2 separate regions of the Homo sapiens genome follow, and region 1 is linked to region 2. Evidence: promoter capture Hi-C in 16 types of primary human blood cells and fetal thymus (Javierre and others, 2016). All regions are on one chromosome and are shown on one strand. The core of a region is centred on a gene start or on the middle of the fragment in contact, and the rest is flanking DNA. Distances in the headings are between cores, read along the strand shown. Region 1 holds the start of IL36A (interleukin 36 alpha). Region 2 overlaps CKAP2L (cytoskeleton associated protein 2 like).

Region 1 (5,453 bases), core at 2,273-4,772, 260 kb after region 2:
TGGAAATTGTGCTATAGGATTTGGGAAAGATTTGCAGGGTAGAGGTGACTATATTAAACTTTGAAGTGAGTAATGAAGGATAGATAGGGATGGACAAAGGAATGAAATCCCAAGACAGGTCTAGTTCTGGATAGCTGAAGAGATAGAGAAGGCTGCAACTCTAGGCTTTACTCCTGTGGAATTCTTTTCTTGCAGAGTGAGAAGTTTCCTTCATCATATTTGGCTCAGTGTCCTTTCTCAGGAGCATTCACCCTTTTGGCTATAAAGGATGTTTCCTCCATGCTAGAGAGAAATAAGTACAGGTCTTGAACAATCTGGTATCACCACAGCCCTCACCACCTCCACTGATGGCACTGTGGCCTAAGTACCCAGGCCATATAGAGCTCCAAGTATCTATGGGATGAAATAAGAATTTTAAAGGACCTACATCTTAGCTGTTGTCACAAATGAGTTTGCATTCATATGTGCAGCATCCAAACCAATATGTTTTGTCTGTTTGCATCTTCATACCTATGGAAGGACCTTGGGCCTCTTCCCCCAAGATATTCATGTGGGTTCAGTTCTGTGCAGAGAGAGTGGAGCTGATGTCATAGGCTCTGAACTTTCTTCTTTGAGTATGGAAATCATCTTATGCTAATGGAGACCTGAGGAAGCTCCTCTTTATAAACTCAGCGTGATACCAAATTCTAATTTTGACTCAGGGATACCTGCTACACATTTAAATTTGGGCTATACATGATTTCACACTCTTGAGGAGATGACTGTGGGGCTCCCTGGGACAAAATTTTAATGGCCTTTTATATCATACCATGCAGTAGGAATATCTGGGAAGGAGACAGGGTGTAAACAGAAGGAAATTCTCCTGCTGGCCAGATAGGTCATTGATGAAGTTGCAAAAAAACCGAGATCTGAGATGATCTATTGGTAGTCACAGCAAAAATGCTGACTGAGATAAACAGGTCAATCTGGGGCTTGGTGACAGACATAGGGGACTCATTAGGTCAGTTGCTCCAGGAAGCTGTCACTTATGGAGAGCTTTTCATGCTCTTCTTTAACCCACATAACAGCCCAGCAAGGTGTAATGCATTTCATATGCGTCATCTGAGGATCAGGGATGTGATAGAATTTCTCCAAAGACACAATTCCAAAAGTTGCAAAACCTAATTTTGAATGCACATCTTTTGAATACAAGTATTTTGCTTTCAAACACCAAACTACTGTGTTAGTTTGGGTTCTCCCCAAGGCAGATCCTGGATGCAGGGAGCTCATTCAGGGGATTATTCCAGGAGATCCAATAGAGAAAATGCTAGTGATCTTGTTACTATTATGGGGCAACTCTGAGAAACCTTAGTGTTATCGTATCAGAGGATGGGGTGGCTGAACATTTGTCTACCAGTTTCTTTCACCACTTACTGAAGTTGCCCCTGAGATGGAAGCCCTAGAGGTGTGAAGCTGACAGATGCTAGGATCTCCAACAGCAGTTGTGAACTCAGGTTGTTGAAGGTATGGAGCAGAGCATCAACAGTATTACCTCAGCTTCCTTTTAGTGTAGACCTAATGTCAGGTACTGCGAGCTCAGAGCACTGGGGCCTCTGGCAGCCAGGCTTCCTTTCCTGCTGTATTAGTCAGGAGCCTCCAGAGAGATAGAATCATTAGGATGTGTGTTTATGCACACAAACACAGACACACATACAGAATCGGCACTTTGTATCTGCAGGTTCAACCAACCAGCATTGAGGGATGCTGAGCCTGTGGATGAAGAGGGCTGACTTTTTGTATAAGTGGGTTCTGCAGGGTCAACTGACAAACTTGTGTAGAGACAGGGTTTTGCTGTGTTGGCCAGGCTGGTCTTGAACTCCTGACCTCAGGTGATCTGCCTGCCTCGGCCTCCCAAAGTTCTGGGATTACAGACATGAGCCATTGTGCTTCAACTTTAAGTTTTTTAGTCATAATTGTGTAAGCTGAACCAATTAAGATGTCTATGATATTGGCTATCATTTCTGCTGTTAATATTCAGTCCTCTTCAACTAGGGCACAAAAAGATTAGTTTTTTCCTTGCAAAGTGATGTGGATGGTCTGCTGCTGCAGGTGCTATTTTCAATATTGTCTCACTTCTTAAAATGAGTTATCCATTGTAAACTGCTGATTTCTTTGGGTCATTGTCCCCACAAACTTTTTATAAGCCATCAATGATTTCACCATTCTTCCACCCAAGTTTCACCATAAATTTGATTTTTGTTCTTGCTTCAATTTTAGAAGAATTCATGTTGATCTTATAGGGGCTCTTTTCAAACTGATGTCTTACCTTTCTTAGTGCCTCAAACTAGATCCTGTTCAAACACCTTATAACAAGTTAGTAGGAGTTTATTTTGGTGCAAAATAATTCAAAATCCATGCATAGTTTTTTTCATAATATGCATTTTCCATGAACTTTTTGATGACCTCTTGTATGAAAGGGGATTTATTAGGGGAATGAACTCATGCAATTTTGGAGGCTGAGAAATCCCATGACAGACCACCTGCAAGCTGGAGACCCTGGGATGCAGGTAACATGCTCAGTTCAAGTCCTAAAGCCTCAGAACTAGGAAGCCACTGGTGTAATTCTCACTTTGGGATAGAAAGCCTGAGAACCCAGGGAGATGCTGATATTAAGTCCTGGAGTCCAAAGTCTGGAGTTATAATGTCCAAAGGCAGGAGAGAATGCCCCAGCTCCAGGAGAGACAGAAAATCACCTTTTCTCTGTCTTTTCCATGCCATCCATGCCCCCGGCCAGTTGGATGGATCCCACCTACGTTGAGGGTAGATGTTCCCCACTAGTACACTGACTTACACACCAATCTTCTTTGGAAACACCCTCATAGACTTACCCCAAACTAATGTATTACCAGTTCTTTAAGTATTCCTTAAACCAGTCAAATTGACACTTAAAATTTACTATCACGCTACCTATACTAGAGATAGTGATCTAGAGTCCATTGAGGTGGCTAGAGTGCTCAGGAGCTGGCTTTGCTACAGTAATACTCCCTTCTTCCATGGAGAAGCAGCATGCACAGTGGCTCTGAGAAGCTGGAGGAGGGTCACTGGAGTGAGTGGGCTTCTGGTCTGAAATTGACCAAGAATATAGTTCCTGTGGACCAGGAGTGATTAGAAGCTACAGAGGTCTTAAGAGACCTATCCCTCCTCAGTCTACCTTGCACTTACTGAGGGCTCCCACTCTTAGGAATAATTCCATCGTTTCATTTTGTGGCATCAGAGATGAGTCATTGACCCGGAAGAAGTCCCGTAATGTTTCTCAACTCAGTATCTGTGACTATATTTCCTGCTCTTAAAAGTTTAGCATGCCCTCATGTTTCAGGTTGCTTGGAGAAGTCTTAACCATGCTGTTCACATAAAGAGTCACTAAATCCTCTGGCATCAGGAACTAGAAAATATCCTGAGTGTTGGGCAGTGCCAGACTTAGTGAGGCAGAACTTCCTTCCTTGCCCATGTGGATAAAAGGCCTGGGCCCTGTTACAGCCTGTCAGAAAACCCAAGTGCAGTAGAAGCCATTGTTCATAATGGTAGGGATACAGGGTCCTTCGTAACAGATTATCAGTGTGGCCTATGCTGGAAAGTCTGGTGACCTCTGATTTTTTTTGCTTCCAGGTCTTTGGCCTTGGCACTCTTTGTCATATTAGAGTTCCTGGGTCTAGGCCTGGGCAGGATTCATAGGTGCAGCTGCTTCTGCTGGAGGTAGACTGCATCCAACAAAGTAAGGGTGCTGGGTGAGTTCTGGGAGTATAGATTCTGACTGGGGTCACTGCTGGGCTGGCCGCCAGTCTTTCATCTGACCCAGGGTTAAACTGTGGCTTGGGACTGACTCAGGTCCTCTCTTGGGGTCGGTCTGCACATAAAAGGACTCCTATCCTTGGCAGTTCTGAAACAACACCACCACAATGGAAAAAGGTAAAGATCCTCGTGGAAGGGCGAAAAATTGACAAGGGGGTGATATTCTGTGCTCTCATTCTTACTAATTTACATTTTGACTTTCTCAACAGCATTGAAAATTGACACACCTCAGCAGGGGAGCATTCAGGATATCAATCATCGGGTGTGGGTTCTTCAGGACCAGACGCTCATAGCAGTCCCGAGGAAGGACCGTATGTCTCCAGGTGAGTAGCCACGGTCTGTGAAAGGCAGCTCCTTTGGCCAGTGCTGTTGTGTGTTTGGTGCTCAGATGTTATTCCACAGTGGGCTTGTTAACCGGGCATATCTACAGAGAGGAGCATCTCACAGACAATAATGAATAGAGGGTGAGCATAAGGTTGTTCTGGGACTATGGTCATGAAGTCAGAGAAGAGAGAGAAGGCTTAAGGGAGACTGAAGGGTCAGCCTATGAAAAACAGTGGAAGACGTATTCTGAGAAACTTCAAGGAGTAAGAGTAGGACAAAAGAGGGTAATCTATGGGAGGACCAGTTTTTGAATCCATGAAAGACTGACTTTTCTAATGGAAAGTGTTCCCCAAACATAGGATGGGTGTCCCGGTTAGGTGGTGGGTGGTGAGGTGACCATTCTATGAGTGCACTGTGAGTGTCAGTTAGCAGATTCCCTTAAAACTCTGGCTCAGAGGTACCACCCTGGAAATGGCAGCTGAACACCACTTTTCACATCGTGTTCCCAGTCACTATTGCCTTAATCTCATGCCGACATGTGGAGACCCTTGAGAAAGACAGAGGGAACCCCATCTACCTGGGCCTGAATGGACTCAATCTCTGCCTGATGTGTGCTAAAGTCGGGGACCAGCCCACACTGCAGCTGAAGGTGAGTGTGGAAGACAGGTCCTGCCATTTATTTGATGGAAACTCAGATTTCAGGATCTTTTAAAAGACAATGTACTTATTATGCTCATGCATTTTTATTTTTGGTTTCCTTGGGGTTGGTATATGTTATGAAAGACTAAGAAAAATTGCAGGGACATTTTGAAACAAACCTACTAAAATGACTTATTATTTTAATTTACAAAAATATTAATAATTTGGCAAGGATGATGTCTAACTTCAATAGAACACACACACAGAGTAAAATCAGCAAGGACATTTTAGCAGTTAATTATCACAAAGTAGACGAACTTATTAAAACATCTTTTTGGCAAAAAATACATTGCAACTTTAAATGAACAAACATAATTCTCTGTAATAAACACTTCAATAATCGCAATTTTCCATTATTAAAAAAAGATAATTATAGCAGGCCTCTGTGTACTACAGGAACTCTCTTGACCCTTTTCAGTAAACAAGCATAAGCAGACACTCAACTTGATGACAAGATATAAAACAGTGTTTTTCAGCCAGGGGTGATATTGCTCCAGGGACATTTGTCAATGTCTGGAGATGTTTTGGTTGTGACAACCTGGGATGGGGGTGTGATACTTGCATTTATCGGGTAGATGACAGGGATGCTACTAAACATCCTA
Region 2 (5,105 bases), core at 1,677-4,176:
CAATCACCAAAATGAAAGGAAGGAAATCAGACTGTGCCAGGCACACTGTGGCTAGAGGCTGACACCCTAAGTGAGGTCAATAGGGTGCAACAAAGGCATGGATTCCTGTCTTCTCTTTTTATTCCTTTTAAAACACTACCATGTTTTAACCAAATAACTGAATTGTAGCCTCATTCTCAAAGAATCTACTATTATCTATTTTATGTCCTTCTTACCACATGTAGTGGGTTACTTAGCTACATGACTTGATTGTTCCCCAGTTAAATCTACTCTTTTTTTTTGAGATGGAGTTTCGCTCTTGTTGTCCAGGCTGGAGTGCAGTGGCGTGATCTTCATTCACTCCAAATTCCACTTTCTGGGTTCAAACGATTCTCCTGCCTCAGCCTCCTGAGTATCTGGGATTACAAGCACGCACCACCACAACTGGCTAATTTTTCTTTTCTGTTTTTTTTTTTTTTTTTTTTTTTTTTTAAAGACAAGACAGGGTTTCACCACGTTGGTCAGGCTGGTCTCAAACTCCTGACCTCAGGTGATCCACCTGCCTTGGCCTCCCAAAGTGCCGGGATTACAGGCGTGAGCTACCGTATGCAGCCTAAATCTACTATTAAAGGAAAAAGATTTGTCACCTTTTAAGATAACAAGAAGAATCCAATTTATTTTCTAAAGATAGCTTGTTTTTTCTTTCCATTCATATAACAAGTATCGTAAGCAATTATAATGTCACTCGTGTTTGGCACAATATATGTCTCATAGAAGAGTCTTCTAAAGGTTATGACCACTGACAGTGATGGTCATCCAATTGAAGAGATTCCTGAGATAGCTATTTTTAAAGCGTAACACAAATTTAGATGAGTATGTTGGTGGGTTTATTATGATTAAACATGTAACTTAAGGCATTTCTCCTTTCTGCCTCAGTCTCTTCCAGCAAAGAGCTGTTTGTCTTCTGCCATCTAGGATTCCAAGGAAGTGGGACACTCCAGTCTAGGCTGTTTTGGTGGAAACAACCTTTGTTCAGTATTGAGTAGTGCATTTACTTGTAATAATACAAATAAGTCAGCTGATGACAATGGCTGAAAGGGCCAGGTCATGGAAACCAAGAAGTGAGAAGCATTTCAGGGGATGATTCTTTTCTTCTTTTTCCTATATGTCCTGGATGATTTTTACTGGTACAGCTAGAGAAGATGAATTTAAATTCAAAAATAATAGTACCTTCTGTGGTTCTGTTTGAGTCTTGCAAGATATTAAGAACAACTTTCCGCAACTCTTGTATTGGCTGGAAGGAAGGAAGAAAACATACAAAATCTTAAAAACATTCATGCAAAAAATTTGCTAAGGAACTTTAACTTCAAATACATGTTTTATAATAAAAGTTTCCTTTTAAAATCTCGTCTAACTATAAATCTTTTGTCTAGCTTGACAGTTTTATAGCTTCATGAGAAAAGTAAAGGAACAGAGAAAATTCTGATTAAGTGTTGGCACACTCGACTTAATGAACAGATGTATTTAAAGTTGTCCATAATGTAATTTGTCTACATCAAATTCTATTTTCCTATTGATTTGTATAATACTGTCAAATATGTATTCCTACATAAAAATTCTGGCCCAATGATGTAAAGCTAGCCACACAGAAAATGCATTTTATATATAGATATAGATATATTTTCTTGAGACAGAGTCTTACTCTGTCCCAGGCTGGAGTGCAGTGGCGCGATCTCGGCTCATTGCAAGCTCTGCCTCCTGGGTTCATGCCATTCTCCTGCCTCAGCCTCCCAAGTAGCTGGGACTACAGGCGCCCACCACCACGCCCAGCTAATTTTTTGTATTTTTAGTAGAGATGGGGTTTTACCGTGTTAGCCAGGATGGTCTCGATCTCCTGACATCGTGATCCACCCGCCTCGGCCTCCCAAACTGCTGGGATTACACGAGTGAGCCACTGTACCTGGCCCCAAACACAATGTTTTTTGAGATGGAGTCTCTGTCACCCAAGCTGGAGTGCAATGGTGCGGTATCGGCTCACCACAAACTCCACTTCCAGGGTTCAAGTGATTCTCCTGCCTCAGCCTCCCGAAGAGCTGGGATTACAGGCATGCGCCACCCCATCTGGCTAATTTTTCTATTTTTAGTAGAGACGGGGTTTCGCTACGTTGGCCAGGCTGGTCTCAAACTCCTGATCTCAAGTGATCCGCCTGCCTCAGCCTCCCAAAGTGCTGAGATTACAGGGGTAAGCCACTGTGCCTGGCCCAGATACAATCTTTGTAGGCATTTTGAGTAATTTTCTCCAGCTTTTCCTGTCTTTCTTCTTTTATTTGTTAACATACTTAGAAAAAAAAACCTTCATGGAAAAGTAATTTTCTGATAAAATTATCTGAGATAGGCTTTATTTTTCAAGTATGTAAACCATGCCATGAAGCAGAAGCTGCACTTTCCCACAAGAAAATTATAGTTGGAGGTTTGTCTTCCTTACCTGGAACTCTGTATCAAATAGATATAAACTGACAATAAAGCATAAAAGCAAAGCTTTCCGTACATTTTTTCAAAATCCAAAATAGAATTATGATTTCAGCTAAATGAATGGGAATAAATGTATAGAATATATTACAAAGAGTGAATTCTATACAACATTCATCAAGCATATTTTATATTTGTATAGCCTTCTGGTTAATGATGGTGGATTAAATATACGTTTATTTCTAATCTCTCTTGAAAATCGACTGAAAGGATAATAAAGGGATTAAGAAGAGGCAATAACCACAAAACATAGGAGAGAAGAAATGACAATAAGGTTTTGGAAGCTGCAGTGCAGAAGGAAGAGAGGTAAACAATTTGATCTACTTGAGAGAGTTGAATCCCAAGCTGGCAGTGTGGCTAAGAAACAACCTGACAGAAAGGCTAAGGAATGGGTGGTAGGGCCCAAATTAGGAGGACTCTTTAGCATCTGTTCAAAAAGCAGTCAGACCTCCAAATCCATCCTGCACCCCTAAACTCTATGCAGCCTAGTAACTGTGTCTGACTCCCTTCATCCTAACAGAAAACTGGGAATGTATTCTGCAAGTCTCTGAGGGATATCATGCAAGATTAGGATAGGGTGCTTTCTGAGAAAAGGAGATAAGCAAAAGTTTCTATGTTGAGGGTTGAGACTCCCTGCTCTCTTCTCTCCCACAGCACTGGCAGCCTGGTGTCTAGCTCCCAGGAAGGAGATTGGAACAGATTTCTCCAGATAACTTGACCAGCTTAAGAGGAAAGACCTAAAGATACTGATATTGAGGGTTTTCTAACTAGTCAACTCAGCCAGATCACCCTGTGTTGAAGCCCCATCCATGTGTCTCGGGCTTTAAATAAGCTTTTTCAGACCCACCTTTTATATGTGCAAACAGCCCAGTTTCACCAGCATCTGTGTAAAGCCTTTAAAGAATAATAGAGAACAAAACAAAAAGAACAAACAAACAATAACAAGAGAGAAAGAAATGAAAAACATTGGAGAAGAAATAGACAATGTAGGAAGAAGAAAACTAATATGGGTTCTAAAAACAAGGGATCCACCCAACTTAAGAAGGATGTAAAGGGAATCTAAAGGTGATGGTAAAGAGATCCCAGAAAGACAGCTGGTGAAGACGGCAGTAAAAAGTAACTTGTTCAGTCTGGAATAAGCCAGAAGGGTCTAGGAGAAAGCTCTTTATCTAAGAAAAAGGAATCAATAGAATATCTGATGTTTTCAAAGTATTGAGGAACTTAGACAATTAGCGAAGAGTTTGTGAATTAATTATATAATAAATACTCAGAAAACTAAGCAAAGGCAAAACAAGACAATAACTCCAGGAAAAGTAGAAAGTTGTGCTTGAAAGGCAAAGTAATCATAGTATATATTGCATGGCTCAACATATTCATGTATTTTTTTTTTTTTTTGAGACAGTCTTGCACTGTTGCCCAGGCTGGAGTGCAGTGGCCCGATCTCGGCTCACTGCAAGCTCTGCCTCCCAGGTTCATGCCATTCTCCTGCCTCAGCCTCCCGAGTAGCTGGGACTACAGGTGCCCGCCACCACGCCCGGCTAACTTTTTTGTATTTTTTAGTAGAGATGGGGTTTCACCATGTTAGCCAAAATGGTCTCGATCTCCTGACCTTGTGATCCACCTGCCTCGGCCTCCCCAAGTGCTGGGATTACAGGCGTGAAACACCGTGCCCAGCCCATATATTTCTTATATATTCATAACAATGTGAATGCTAAATAGTGACCAGAATTTCCATGACTCTAATGAAAGTATAAGGAATGGCAAAGGTCTATAAGGATGGTAAATAGGGGTGTGTATTTGTGTGTGCTGGGGATCTGTGTATGTATGTGTGAAAGAGGGCTAAATCTTCACTCTGCATAGCTGGAAGTCCATAAATCATATCTAAAACTGAAAAATCAAGAAACAGAAACACGTTTTCTGAAACTATAGAGGTTAATATAAAAATAAATCAGTTTGCTCTAGGAAGGGGAAAATGGGAGGGAAGGAAGGCAGAGGTCTTACTGAACGAAACTTATCAAACTACTTGACTGCTTAAACTATGTGCATGTACAATTCTGATTTTGAACCATTATGGAAAAAGGTATCACACAGAATACAGAACATGACATGGAAAATGACATTTTAAGGAAAAGCATTATAAAACTATTTGATGCAGTTTTTGTAAATAATAATTATATAGTTTTTTTTTCTAAATTTTAGAATTAAAAGTTATTTCATGCAATGGCTCTGAATTATTGATTTAAGGATGCTGACGTATTGGGTTTAATATATTTTTAAGTTCTTTATGGTAAGGTATGACTTTATAAGTGTTGGATATTGATGTTGCAAACTTCTAACCATCATATTACAAACAACAACAGAGAACTCACATGAAAGAGAATTTTAAGAAGTTACCCACCCAAGACAGATACTCACTGTTGCCCCATTTTTAATGGCCTCTTCATATAGCCCAATAACATCAAAGGTGCCTTTACTTGCCAACAACTTTGCTTTGCAGATCCAGAATTTAGCAAATTTTTCAGCTTCAGGAATGCTGGACAATATGTTAAGTATTTCATTAGAAGGTACACCCTGAAATAAACCAAAATATCCAGAGG

What was found. Contacts are between HindIII fragments. The CHiCAGO score rates a contact against its expected background, and 5 or more counts as called.
Region 1: the fragment with the promoter of IL36A here is called in contact with a fragment that was not itself captured in region 2 in 2 of 17 cell types (M1 macrophages and M2 macrophages); the score reaches 9.5 in M1 macrophages.

Annotation. Positions count from the first base shown.
Region 1 is chr2:113,001,937-113,007,389 of GRCh38, forward strand. It overlaps IL36A (interleukin 36 alpha), which reads left to right and starts at 3,523. Exons shown (of 4, transcript NM_014440.3): 1 at 3,523-3,945; 2 at 4,038-4,151; 3 at 4,662-4,801. The coding sequence starts at 3,936. The HindIII fragment of the contact is 6,987 bases long and covers 1-5,453 here.
Region 2 is chr2:112,741,497-112,746,601 of GRCh38, forward strand. It overlaps CKAP2L (cytoskeleton associated protein 2 like), which reads right to left. Exons shown (of 9, transcript NM_152515.5): 6 at 4,924-5,079; 7 at 1,210-1,273. It also overlaps a transcript of NT5DC4 not described here. Among named protein-coding and RNA genes, the nearest start is that of CKAP2L, 21 kb to the right of the region's middle. The HindIII fragment of the contact is 823 bases long and covers 2,516-3,338 here.